2 separate regions of the Homo sapiens genome follow, and region 1 is linked to region 2. The links are contacts of gene promoters, found by promoter capture Hi-C in blood cells and fetal thymus (Javierre and others, 2016). All regions are on one chromosome and are shown on one strand. The core of a region is centred on a gene start or on the middle of the fragment in contact, and the rest is flanking DNA. Distances in the headings are between cores, read along the strand shown.

Region 1 (6,219 bases), core at 3,501-6,000, 100 kb after region 2:
AAAAGAAAATAGGCTGGATGCAGTGGTTCACACTTGTTATCCTGCCATTTTGGAAGGTTGAGGTGGGAGGATCGCCTGAGCCCAGGAGTTTGAGACCTGCCTGGACAACGTGGTAAGCGCTGGTCTCTACAAAAAATAAAATAATGATCAATTAAGCACAAAGGAAGACAGCAAGAAAATAAAAGAGGGTCAAAAGAACTACAGGCTGACAGGAAAAAATTAACAAAATGGCAATAATAAGTCCTTCCCTATCAATAACTACTGTATTTTTGTTTGTTTTGGGGGTTTTCTTGAGGGGGTTGTTTGTTTTTTGAGGCAGTCTCGCTCTGTCACCCAGGCTGGAAATACAGTGGTGTGATGTTGGTTCACTGCAACCTCCACCTCCCAGGCTCAAGCTATCCTCCCACCTCAGCCTCTTGAGTAGCCGGGACCACAGGCATGTACCACCATTTTTTTTTTTTTTTTGGTATTTTTAGTACAGTCAGGGATATAAATCATTCTGTTACAAAGATACACGCACATGTATGTTCACTGCAGCATTATTCATAATAGCAAAGACATGGAATCAACCCAAATGCCTATCAATGATAGACTGGATAAAGAAAATGTGGTACATATACACCATAGAATGCTATGCAGCCGTAAAAATGAATGAGATCGTGTCCTTTGCATGGACATAGATAGAGGTGGAAGCCATTATCCTCAGCAAACTAATGCAGGAACAGAAAACCAAGCACCGCATGTTCTCACTTATAAGTGGGAGCTGATTAATGAGAACATGTGGACACAGGGAGGGGAAGAACACATACTGGGGCCTTGTGGTGGGGGATGCAGGGGGAGAGAGAGCATCAGGAAAAATAACTAATGTATGCTGGGCTTAATACCTAGGTGATGGGTTGATAGGTGCAGCAAACCACTGTGACAAACATTTACCTATGTAACAAACCTGCACATTCTGCACATGTATCCCAGAACTTACAATAAAATATTTAAAAAATTGTTTTAAAAAATAAAAAAAAAAGAAAAGAAAAAAACTCTGAATAACCAAAACAATCTTGAGAAAGAAGAATACAGCTGGAGGGCCTCATACTTTCTAATTTCAAAACACTTTCCAAAACTACAGTAATTAATACATGATGGTACTGGCATAAAGACAGATGTACACACCAATGGAACACAACAGCGAGTCCAGAAACAAGCCCACACATGAAAGGACAACTGATCTTCTAAAAGGGTGCATAGAATGCACAATGGGGAATGTATAGTCTCCTCAACAAATGGCGTCCAGGAAATTAGACATCCAAATGCAAAAGGCAAAATTATCCCAGCTGTCTTCTTGGAAAACATAACCAAAAAAAAAAAAAAGAAAGGAACGTTCTAACATGCAACAAAATGCCAATAATAAGTCCTTCCCTATCAATAACAACTGTAGCTTTGTTTGTTTGGGGGATTTTTTTGGAGGGGGTTGTTTTGTTTTTTGAGGCAGGGTCTCACTCTGTCACCCAGGCCGGAATACAGTGGTGTGATGTTGGTTCACTCTAACCTCTGTGAGGATTGTGCACTAGAATCTACCTGCAAACAAATAATATTAGAACTTTATATTTTACCACACAGAAAAATAAACTCAAAATGGACTAAATATTTAAACATAAGACCTGAAACTATGAAACTCATAGAAGAAAACAGAGAGGAACCTTCATTACATTGGTCTTGGCAATGCTTTCATGGGTACAAAACCAAAAGCACTGACAACAAAAGCAAAAATAGGATAGTGGGACTACAACAAACTAAAAGCCTTTGCACAGGAAAGGAAACAATCAACAGTTGAAAAGGCAACTTACAGAACAGGAGAATATTTGCAAACTATATATCTGATAAGGACTTAAGATCCAAAATATATAAATAACTGCTTATAATTCAATAGCAAAGAGGTGAATCATCTGATTTAAAATGGATGAAGGAACTGAAAAGATATTTCTACAAAGAGAGCACATAAATGGCCAACAGCTATGTGAAAAAATGCCTAATATCTTAATCATCAGGGAAATGCAAATCAAAACCACAATAAGACATCACCTCACACTTTTTAGGATGGCCATTACAAAAAGAAAAAGGAAAAGAACAAATTTTTGCTGCCTTGGAAAAATTGAAACCCTTGGATGCTGTTGGTGGAAATGTGCAACAGTGCAGCTGTTGTGGAAAACAATAGAAAGCTTCCTCAAAAAATTAAATGTAACTACCATATGATCTAGAAATCCCACTTCTGGATATTTATCCAAAATAATTAAAAATAGTATCTTAAAGAGATATTTGACACTCATATTCATTGCAGCATTATTCACAATGGCCAAAATGTGGAAGCAACCCAACTGTTCACTGATGCATGAATGGATTAAACAAAATGTGATGTATATATGTACCATGGAATATTATTAAGCCTTTAAAAGGAAAATTCTGTTCTATGCTGCATCATGAATGAACCTGGAAGACATTATGCTAAGTGAAATAAGCCAGTCATGAAAGAACTAATACTGAATTATTCTACTTATATGAGGTACCCAAAACAGTCAAATTCATCATATCAGAGAGTGGAATGGTGATTGCCGAGGGCTGAAGCAAGTGGGAAATGAGGAGTTGCTTTTCAGTGGGCATTAAAATTTCAATCATGCAAGATGAAGTTCTAGAGATCCCCTGTACCACACTGTACCTGTAGTTAACAACACTGTACTGTGCACTTAACACTTGTTAAAAGGGTAAATTTCATGTTATTTTTTTTACCATAATAGTTTTTAAAAAAGATTAATGGTGCTCTCTTTTCCACTGTTAGTTTCTAAGACAGTATCTCTTTCTTTCCAGTGTCTCATTACGGTTTTGCCTTACTTTACTTTATAATTGTTGATTGAGTACTCTGAGTATATTGTATCTCTATCTCCTATGTTACCTAGTATAGTGCTTTGAGCACAGAAGACACTCAATGAATACTTGTTGAATAAATTCATTTATGCATTAGTAAAGAACAACTCTATTAAGACTTTCCAAATGTTACAGATTACCTAATTTGTGGTATTTGCTTAAAAGACTGATTTGTGCAACTATGGAAAGCTGTTCACTAGGAATTCAAGGAAGATAGCATGATTACTGATAAAAAATAGTTGGGAAAAACTTAATGAAAGTTGTTGGTCTTCATTCATACATACGTCAGACATGTTGAGGAACTACTTGGCACCATGAAAATGAAGACAGGCTCACAGTCTAATGAGTAGCCAGACATATAAAATGAAGTAAGTGCAAAAAGAAGTCAATATAAATATTCATAGTTACAGCAAGATTAGAGGAACTAAAACTATCAATACCTTAGGAGGTTGCCTAAAGCTTTATATCTAAAATGAATTTTTAATAAACTATATATACTCATGGGGTTAGAGAAGGGCCTTCTGGACAGAAGGAACAATGTGTACAAAGATGAGAAAACATGAAAAACCCTGGCTAATTAGGGAATTTGTAAAAACTTCAAAAGATGTGGAGTATAGAATATAAGCAGGAAAGTATCAGAGAACATGCGGTATTCAGATTCTGAAGGAGTTTAAGGTCCAATTAAGCAATTTAGGGGAAACAGATGCACAAAGACTCATGTCAGAGCTACTCCCATTTCCTTTCTAATCCCGACTAAATCCAAGACTAACAATAACCACCACTACCACAGCAACAAATCCTGCTAATAGTATATACAGCTATGTGCTGCATAATGACAGACAACATATGGGATGGTAGTACCAAAAGATTATAGTAGAGCTAAAAATTACTATCTTCTAGTGAAGTCACAGCCATCATAGTGTCATAGAGCAAGACATTACTTAGATGTTTGTGCTGATAATGCCAGTGTAAACAAACCTACTGTACTGCTAATTGTATAAAAGTATAGCACATATAATCATGTACGGTACATAATACTTGATAATGACAATAAGTGACTATATTACTGGTTTATGTATTTGCTATACTTTTTATTGTTATTTTGGAGTGTACTCCTTCTGCTTATTTTTTTAAGTCAAAAACAGCCTCAGGCAGGTCCTTCAGGAGGTATTCTAGAGGAAGATACTGTTATCATAGTAGATGACAGCCCCATGCATGTTATTGCCCCTGAAAACCTTCCAGTGGGACAAGATGTGGAGGTAGAAGACAGTGATACTGATGATCCCGACCCTGTGTGCTTAGGCTAATGTGTGTGTTTGTGTCTTAGTTTTCAATTAAAAAGCCTAAAAACTAAAAAGAAATAAAAACGTAAAAAATAGAAAAATCTTGTAGAATAAGGATATAATGAAAGAAAATATTTTTGTACAACTGTAGAATGTGTTGTGTTTTAAGCTAAGTATTATTATAAAAGAGTCAAAAACTTTTTGTCTTTTGTACCTTATTTTTACTGTAACTTTTCTATGCTTAGATACACAAATACTTCCCATTGTGTTACAACTGGCTCTGGCTACAATATTCAATACAGTAACATGCTGTACAGATTTGTAGCCTAGGAGCAATAGGTTGTATCACACAGGTTTATGGAAACACACTTTATGACGTTCACACAATGGTGAAATCGGCCCTTTTCTCAGAATGTATCCCTGTTGTTAAGAGATGCATGACTGTACATTGTGTAGATCAATGTATGTGAAAATTATACTCATTTGTTAAGTTCCAGAATATGTGTTTGATTTCCCCAAGCAGAAATAATCTCTCCTCTTTTTGTGTTTCCTCACAGTTTTTTACATTTGACTTTTTACTCTACATATGGATGAATTGTACTATATCATCTACTACTTTTTTTAGCCCTTTGCTTATCTCTGTATCTACAGTGAAGGCTGGGTTAATTGAATGACACAGACTAGAATTGAAGTAAAGCATTTTTTTCTAGTAAATTCTACAATCTTTGGTCCTTATTGTATAAATGTGGTCATAGAAAAGATACCTTTCTCACTATGGTTAACCTACATTAAAAAAAACTAAGAAGGAGCACCGTGTTTAGTTACTGACACCTAATCCTTTGTTTTTCTTAGACTTAGGTCAGCAGAAATATGAAGCCTGGTAAGACTGCCTGTATTTCCAGGTTTTGTAACCCTGGTTTATTCATCAAACTATTGTGAACTTTGGCCCAATCATGTTCTTTTGCAGCCTGTATATTTGTTTATCATTCACTTGCATAGAAAAGATACCACCTATTGTAAAGAATCTGTTTGTAGAAATTGTAGAACATGAAAGGAGGCTGGTTAGTCAATACGCGTATTTTGTGTTTCCCTATATAATGACCAATTGATTTGTTTCAGGGTAATCTCAGCTCTAACTGCTAATCCAGAAAGGAAGTGCCTAATCTTTACAGAACTACTGGAGTAAAAGGGTATGTTTTTCTTTGCTTATCACAGGTTTAATTATAGGATAAAACAGCAAAGTGTGTACCAAAGCAACCAAAGGACTTAGTGTGAAAAAAAAAATTCTAAGAGTTTAAATGCTAAGAGTTCAAATGCAATACTACGTAAAATAAATCACAAGTCAGGCTTCAGACAGAATGCGGACATCAGGAAAAATGGGTAAAATATTTACCTTTGTATACTAGAATCTCTATTTCCCTATTTGTAATTACTGCACCCTGCACTCCCTATTAGAGATACTTATGTTAATTTACCCTGCCCTAGTTAAAAGCCATTTGAAGATTCTTTGAGTGCTACATTCAAAAGGAAATACATTCTATTATTGAAAATCTATATAGCTAAGGATATTCCATTTCATAGTTAGATATTTGTGGTAAGCCCTTGATCATCATACATATCATTTTTGGGCCATTATTTGATTAGGTATACAAAAATAATAATTTAGTTCCTAGAGGAATTAATATGACTTTTTAAAGTATTCATAACTAAAAATAGGTCTTAAACTCTGGAAAAATTTGATCAACAAATAAAGCCAGTGTCATCATTCTTGATTTCTTGATGCACTTGAGAGGGCATCAAGTTGAATTTGAAGACCACTTACCTGTGTGATTCAGAGAAGCGGCAGTACCATGGGAGAGGGGGATGTTTCAATAAAGGGTTCTAGATTACACAACTGCAAAGTGTTTAAAAGGATAGTCTTTCTTAAATCTCTGAAGCTTGCCTATTTATCTGTGATAAATTATATGAATTTATCTAAGTGGATATCTTTTGAAAAATAATATGCTTCTATCACCCTTTTGCT
Region 2 (6,177 bases), core at 2,633-5,132:
AGTCCATTCTATAGGCCAAATTGGGATGGCTGTAGAGGAACAGAAAAAAGTTAGCTGGAGAGATCTCTTTTCTTGGCCCTGCATTGTACCTTTCAGCAGGAAGTTAGAGCTCAGGATAGCAAGAAAAAGCAAATAAAGGATGCTATTACAAATAATGAAGGCAGAGAGATTTGACCGGGATTGTGAAGAGGGGATAAGGAAGACTTAGATCCTGGTGACCTACTTTTAGTATTGTCTGCTAAATCCTCAGGGAAGTGTTTAGCTCTGATTATAAATATTAATTAGATTTCAATCAGAGACTATTTAAAGGGTCTGTACACCTTAGAGAGAGACATTTCAGATAGATTGATTGTTAGAAATATATACAGATATAGTAATATATATAGCATTTTCATGTACAAGTGGTTCAAGTTGGTAATAAGTAGATGATTTCACATAGTAAAACAGACCCAAGCCAGCTACAAAATTATAGGTAAATTAAATGACTCTATAAATAAGCATGATAAAACCTTAGTAACTTTAGCAGATATATAATTCCACTGTATATGGATAGGGTCAACATTCTTTAGCTTTGCTATAACATCTTCCTTGTTATGCATATAAACTGAACAAAAATATTTGTAGAAGCAGCAGCTCTACACATTTAAAAACAAACAATGAAAGAACCTGATACTTATTAAATAGTGACTTCCTAAAATTCTTAGGCATAATTTGAGGCTGTTGGCTGCTTGACATTATTCTGCACTGTGGGGAGTGGAGTCTCAGGTAAGAGACCCTGTCCTAGCCCTTGAGCTCTGTGACAGCAAGAGTTGGGAATGCTGCAAACTTGCAATCAGTGCCAGAAAGAAGGTGGAAGGTGTTTCTTCTTTTAACCACAATGCCAGCAACAGATTAAGGAGTGGTGTTACCCACACTACATGAAGCGTTGTTGAGTCTACTCTTGCTGTGAGTATTGTGTCTCAAATCAGGAAATGTTCTAAGTGTGGAATGTGTGAAGCGTGCATCACATCAGTCTGTTGTGACTGAGGCATTCTTTCAAAACCTGTCATCTGAGTCCAACAATGTTCCTATTTAATTAGCCACTAGTTTTTCTTTCTTTTTAATGATAAATAAGAGGCTCCCTTTCCTTCTCCGTGTACACAACATAGCTAGGGAAGAAACTCAGTCTCTTAAAGTCCTGCATAGTTTAACATTCATTCTTAGATTCTTTATGCATTTTGAATAGAAAAAAAAGGCAAATCCAGCTCATACATATGGTGGTCTTAAAAGGAAGCATATAATGAAGTATAAAAAATTACATCACAAATAAAAACAATACAATAACCATTTTTACAATTTTACTCTGCAATGTATTATTAGACTTGGAGAAACACTGCGAGTTTAGGTGGTTGTTGGCATGGCAAATGCTACTAATCAAAGAAACAGAGGTAGTTGGAGATGGACCAGAAAAGTAGGAGCAATGAGGGAGTGCTACTAAGAGTGATATGACTCAAGAATTTTTCCCTCTGTCTTTCTTAGTTCTCCCTATGTTCCCTCTCCCAGTTGTTGCTGAATTCACTGCTACCCCCAACCCCCATCCTGGACTCATTACTGCAAAGTCTTCTCAACTGATTCCCCAACTCAAGATGTAATTAGCTTCTCAGGCTAAGAGCAATTGGTAAAACATCTCACACATTTTTGTCCTTGTTGTTTGTGGGCATTTTTGTATGTTTATTGTTTTTATTTTTGTTTTTGTTTTTTGAGGCAGTTTCTCACTCTGTCTCAAAGACTAAAGGGCAGTGGCTTGATAATAGCTTACTGCAACCCCGAACCCCTGGACTCAAGCAATCTTCTGGCCTCACTCCCTCACCCCTAACCCCTTAGCTAAGACTACAAGTGCATGCCACCATGCTTGGCTAATTTTTAAATTTTTTGAAGAGGTGGGGTCTCGCTATATTGCCCAGGCTGACTCAGTTTCTTGAGAATCTTGAAAACAAACAAACAAAACACATGCTCAAGAACCAAAGTAAAAAAAAAAAGTTTTCAAATAGTTTGAGTAAGAAATGTCCTCAGATTAAACCACATAAAGCAGTTATGGTAGCATTAACAACAATCTATTATAGATCCATAAACATTCAATGATTTTAATATATTCTGAAAACTAGCTAAAGCATCATTCAAAATGTCTTCATTTTAAACTAAAATGTCAATAGGCATTTAACCGAAAAAAAATTTAAAGCTTGACATACTAAGCTTTCCTTCAAAAGTTTACATTTTTTTATATTTCACTGGAACAAAGTTACTTTGCATATACATCACACTTTTACTCTCAGAGGAGTTTCTCCTGCAGACTTCTTTAAAAAACTATATACATATATACATACATATACGTATATATTAAATTATCCTCAGCCTCAAATACTGATTTTGCAGTCTGTGATTCATAGCAGAAGAGGTGTCCCATTTTTCTATATTGACACACGATAATTTGACATTTGTTTTTTACTGACCAATTTCTAGCTAGATATTTCATCTATAAACTGCACTTAGCCAGCCTTATGCTGAACTTTGTAAGGGTTTTGTAATAATAAACTGTTCTTGACTGAAACACAAGCCTTTCATAATTACATGCCACAGTGCAATTCTTATGCAACGAGCTTGTGTTTTTCCAAATTTAGGACCAAGCATGTAGTTTTATCAGTTAGCTGGGATTTGGTCTTGTTTTCCCTTGATTCTGTAAGTGGTAGTTCTAACTTTGAAATGGGTCATCTAACTTATAACTATTTTCTTCATTTCTTTTTAAAAGGGAGAAATAGCATGCAAATTTCTGGCATGTTGATAGAAAGTTCAGCATTTTTTCCCTGACATGAAATATTTCATTTAGAATGCGTATGTTTCCTCTACGTATAAGGTTTCCTAGAGTCAGATATGATAAAAACAAACTCTGAGATGTATATACCTATGTTCCTACAAGTGTAAAACCTGAATGATGTCTCTGGAAATGGAGCCTCGGAGTGACCAGGAACACAAATACTTATATGTCACAGAAATAGAGGGGCACATACTTTGAAATATTTCAATGGAAATCAAAAATTGTAGTTTACTGGATTGAAATTAGTATCCTCTACTTAAACATTTTTGACACAAACTCAATGCTGATTCAGATCTGTAATCCATGTAGCTCATAATAACTTACTTGGTAGAAGTATTTCAGATTAATGAATTGTACAATTGTACAAATTAATAAATTGTACAATTGTTCAACTATACAATTAATTGTACAATTTGTATAGTTGAAAAAATCTATAAATTAATTTATAGATAAATTATCAAAGAAGACAACATTTTAAATAGTTATTCCCAATATTTTTTCTTCCATAATTAAAATAAAAGTAAGTATCTCAGCAATTGCTTGTTCTTAAAATTTCACTGCTATCTCAGCAGTCATGTAAGTTATTCTGGCTATTTAATTTTTCACTTTTGTTTGCATACTGTAACAGTTGGTAGGATAATTAATTTTGATTGTACATTTCCATTGAACTTTTGATGAAATTGTTTCACTCTTTTTATTAGAATAAAATTATTAGGAAAGTCTTCTAAAGAGAGGTTTTCTGTTTGTTTTTCCTTTGAGGAAGGTAGAGAGATGGGAAACGAAGACACCAAATATAAAGTCATTCCTCTATCTCTCATTTTAAAACCTGTTTTAAAGGTTGTAGCTAGTCAGGAAAACTGAAAAATCAACTGGTATTCCTAACTAAAGCAGGGCTTTGAAACTCTGCTACTAGCGACAGGGTTGGGAAAATTCCGGTTGCTCTTCTTGTCTGTGATATACGGTAGAAGGGTTGGTCCTGGTTTGGTCCACCTGCCAGCGGAGTTTAAAGTTTCCGAGGCTCAGAGGAACACAATGACTTGGATCAAACAGCCTAAATGGGAAGAAGGACATTTTTGCTGCATCAAGGAAGCCGTTAAACTCCTGCTAAGCTAACTAGCTCTTTTTTATGGGTCCATGCACACGACCGAACTCCTCTTTCACTGACCAGAGATTATTTCTGACAACCCAGGATATCCCGAAAGCTTGGAGGCATATGGCTGGAAAATGAAACGACCCAGGACATCGTTTCTGGCTGCATCATTATTTTGTGTCGCGTAGTACCAGATGGGCAGTCAGTGAGCGGCGCAGGGATGTGAACGGACGGTTTTATAATGTGAAAATTTTCCCTTGGTAAAGCTAAAACAGATTTAATTTCCCTCTCTTTTCTTTCACTACTTCCCCCTCTTTATTCCCCCTCTGTCTGCAATATCAGTGAACTCAACTTTGCAGTGAGGTGGCCAAAAAGAGAGAGAATGAGGAGATCTTGATCATCTTAGTGTCGGAGGAGTCGCAGCGGACTGGGAACTGCAGCTGCGACCCCCCGCGTCCTGTGCGGATTTCAGGGCTGATACCGCATAGGCGGTTATGGAAAGGACGGTACACCGGAGCGGCGGAGGATAGAGACCCTGGCCCCCGGAGAGGTCTGCTGATTTCGCAGCAGCCTTCGAAGCCGTGGCTGCCTTTCATCTGCTGCGTTTTATTACTATTATCGCCGTTCCGGAAAAGTCATGGAAGACAGCCCGCTGCCAGACCTCAGAGACATCGAGCTGAAGCTGGGGCGCAAAGTACCCGAGAGTCTAGTGCGCTCTCTCCGTGGGGAGGAGCCGGTTCCCAGGGAAAGGGACAGGGACCCCTGCGGGGGGAGCGGTGGTGGTGGCGGCGGCGGCGGCGGCTGCAGTAGCAGCAGCAGCTACTGCAGCTTCCCTCCCTCCTTGTCGTCCTCCTCTTCGTCCTCCCCAACCTCTGGCTCCCCACGAGGTAGCCACTCTAGCGCCCTGGAGAGGCTAGAAACCAAGCTTCACCTCCTCAGGCAAGAGATGGTGAGTGTGGTGCGCCAGCCGCGGGGGCTGGGACCTGGGCTGGGCCAAAAGATGGGGCGATCTGAGAATGGGGCTGGGAGAGAGGACGGCAGGGGCTGCAGAGCGGAGCGCTGGGCGCGTGGGAAATGCTGGGTGGAGGAATGAGCAGGGGGCGCTCATCCGGAGGCAGCTGCTGCGAGGCTTGTTTACCGCGGACTTTGCTCGGTCACGGTTTGCAAAGACAGCACAGTCGGCTGGCTCCACTCTGTGTACTTTCGGACAACGCGACTCACTGCGCCGGGCTCTATTTAGCTGCCAGCCCGTAGCCTCTTAGGCACCAGCCCGTTGAGAGTTTGCAGTTATTGCACCCATCTAAGGCCTGCTGTGCGCTGTTAACACTTCGGGTAGGTTCAAAAGGTGGCTCAGTCCAATGCACTTACTGCAAAAATACTTCCTGGTTTGCCGGGAGGTGGCGTGGCAGGGTCCTTGCAGCCTTTCCTCCTAGCTCACCCTTCCACCAGTACCGCTCCGCCCTCCTGCCCTCCCTTCTTGGTGCAGCAGCCGCAGCTGTTCCAAGGCCACTGTCGAGCAGATTCTCCACAGCTGGTTCTGAAAACAATGGCCTACTCGTCCTTGATGTACTTATGAATAGCTTGTTTCACTATTTTGATCCCAGGGAGCAGGTGATCCCCAGGCCCAGGGATCTGCTAAGGACCATCTCCCACCCTTCTCCCTCAAGTCTCAATCTGCAGTTGTTTTCCCTGCTGTTTGCAAACGTTTGCCTGAGCATAGGACAATGAGATAAGTACAAGGTCTAGGAATACTCATTCTGGAAGTATTTAGACTAAGACACTATTTACTTGCCATGAGCTCTTGGGCACGTCACTTCACTTCTGTAGACCTCTGTGAATTTGATGAGCTGGTTAGAGAAAATGATCCCTCCCTAAGTCCTTTGAAAAAAACGACCACAAAGCAACAGCATTTTCTACTAGCTTGGAGATAAGGAAAGTTGCAACAGTGGGCCTCAAAAAGAGAAAATAATTTCATTAAATTAACTTCACAGTTGCTTTTGATTTGCTTCAAAGTAGGCTAGGAGATTTCTATCACTCCGACAGGAATGCTGGAAATTATTTCTATCATTCTATCGTTTAGTTATTATAGAGTTCTATCATTTAGTGATTGTTATTTTTTAGGTTGGACAAAAATTTAAGGACAACCCTTAGGTACATAATGGAGAAGCTGGAAAGTGGAAGTCATCTTGATGAGTTTGCAAAATAGATGAAAAGATAAAATGGAAAAGATGACAAA

The links. Contacts are between HindIII fragments. The CHiCAGO score rates a contact against its expected background, and 5 or more counts as called.
Region 1: a contact is called between a fragment that was not itself captured here and the fragment with the promoter of LURAP1L in region 2, in 1 of 17 cell types (endothelial precursors). The highest score is 6.4, in endothelial precursors.

Annotation. Positions count from the first base shown.
Region 1 is chr9:12,873,420-12,879,638 of GRCh38, forward strand. No RefSeq gene overlaps it. Among named protein-coding and RNA genes, the nearest start is that of LURAP1L-AS1, 62 kb to the left of the region's middle. The HindIII fragment of the contact is 2,761 bases long and covers 3,371-6,131 here.
Region 2 is chr9:12,771,138-12,777,314 of GRCh38, forward strand. LURAP1L (leucine rich adaptor protein 1 like) reads left to right here and starts at 3,883. Exons shown (of 2, transcript NM_203403.2): 1 at 3,883-4,890. The coding sequence starts at 4,579. All of the region lies in intron 2 of LURAP1L-AS1 (LURAP1L antisense RNA 1), which reads right to left. The HindIII fragment of the contact is 1,821 bases long and covers 2,231-4,051 here.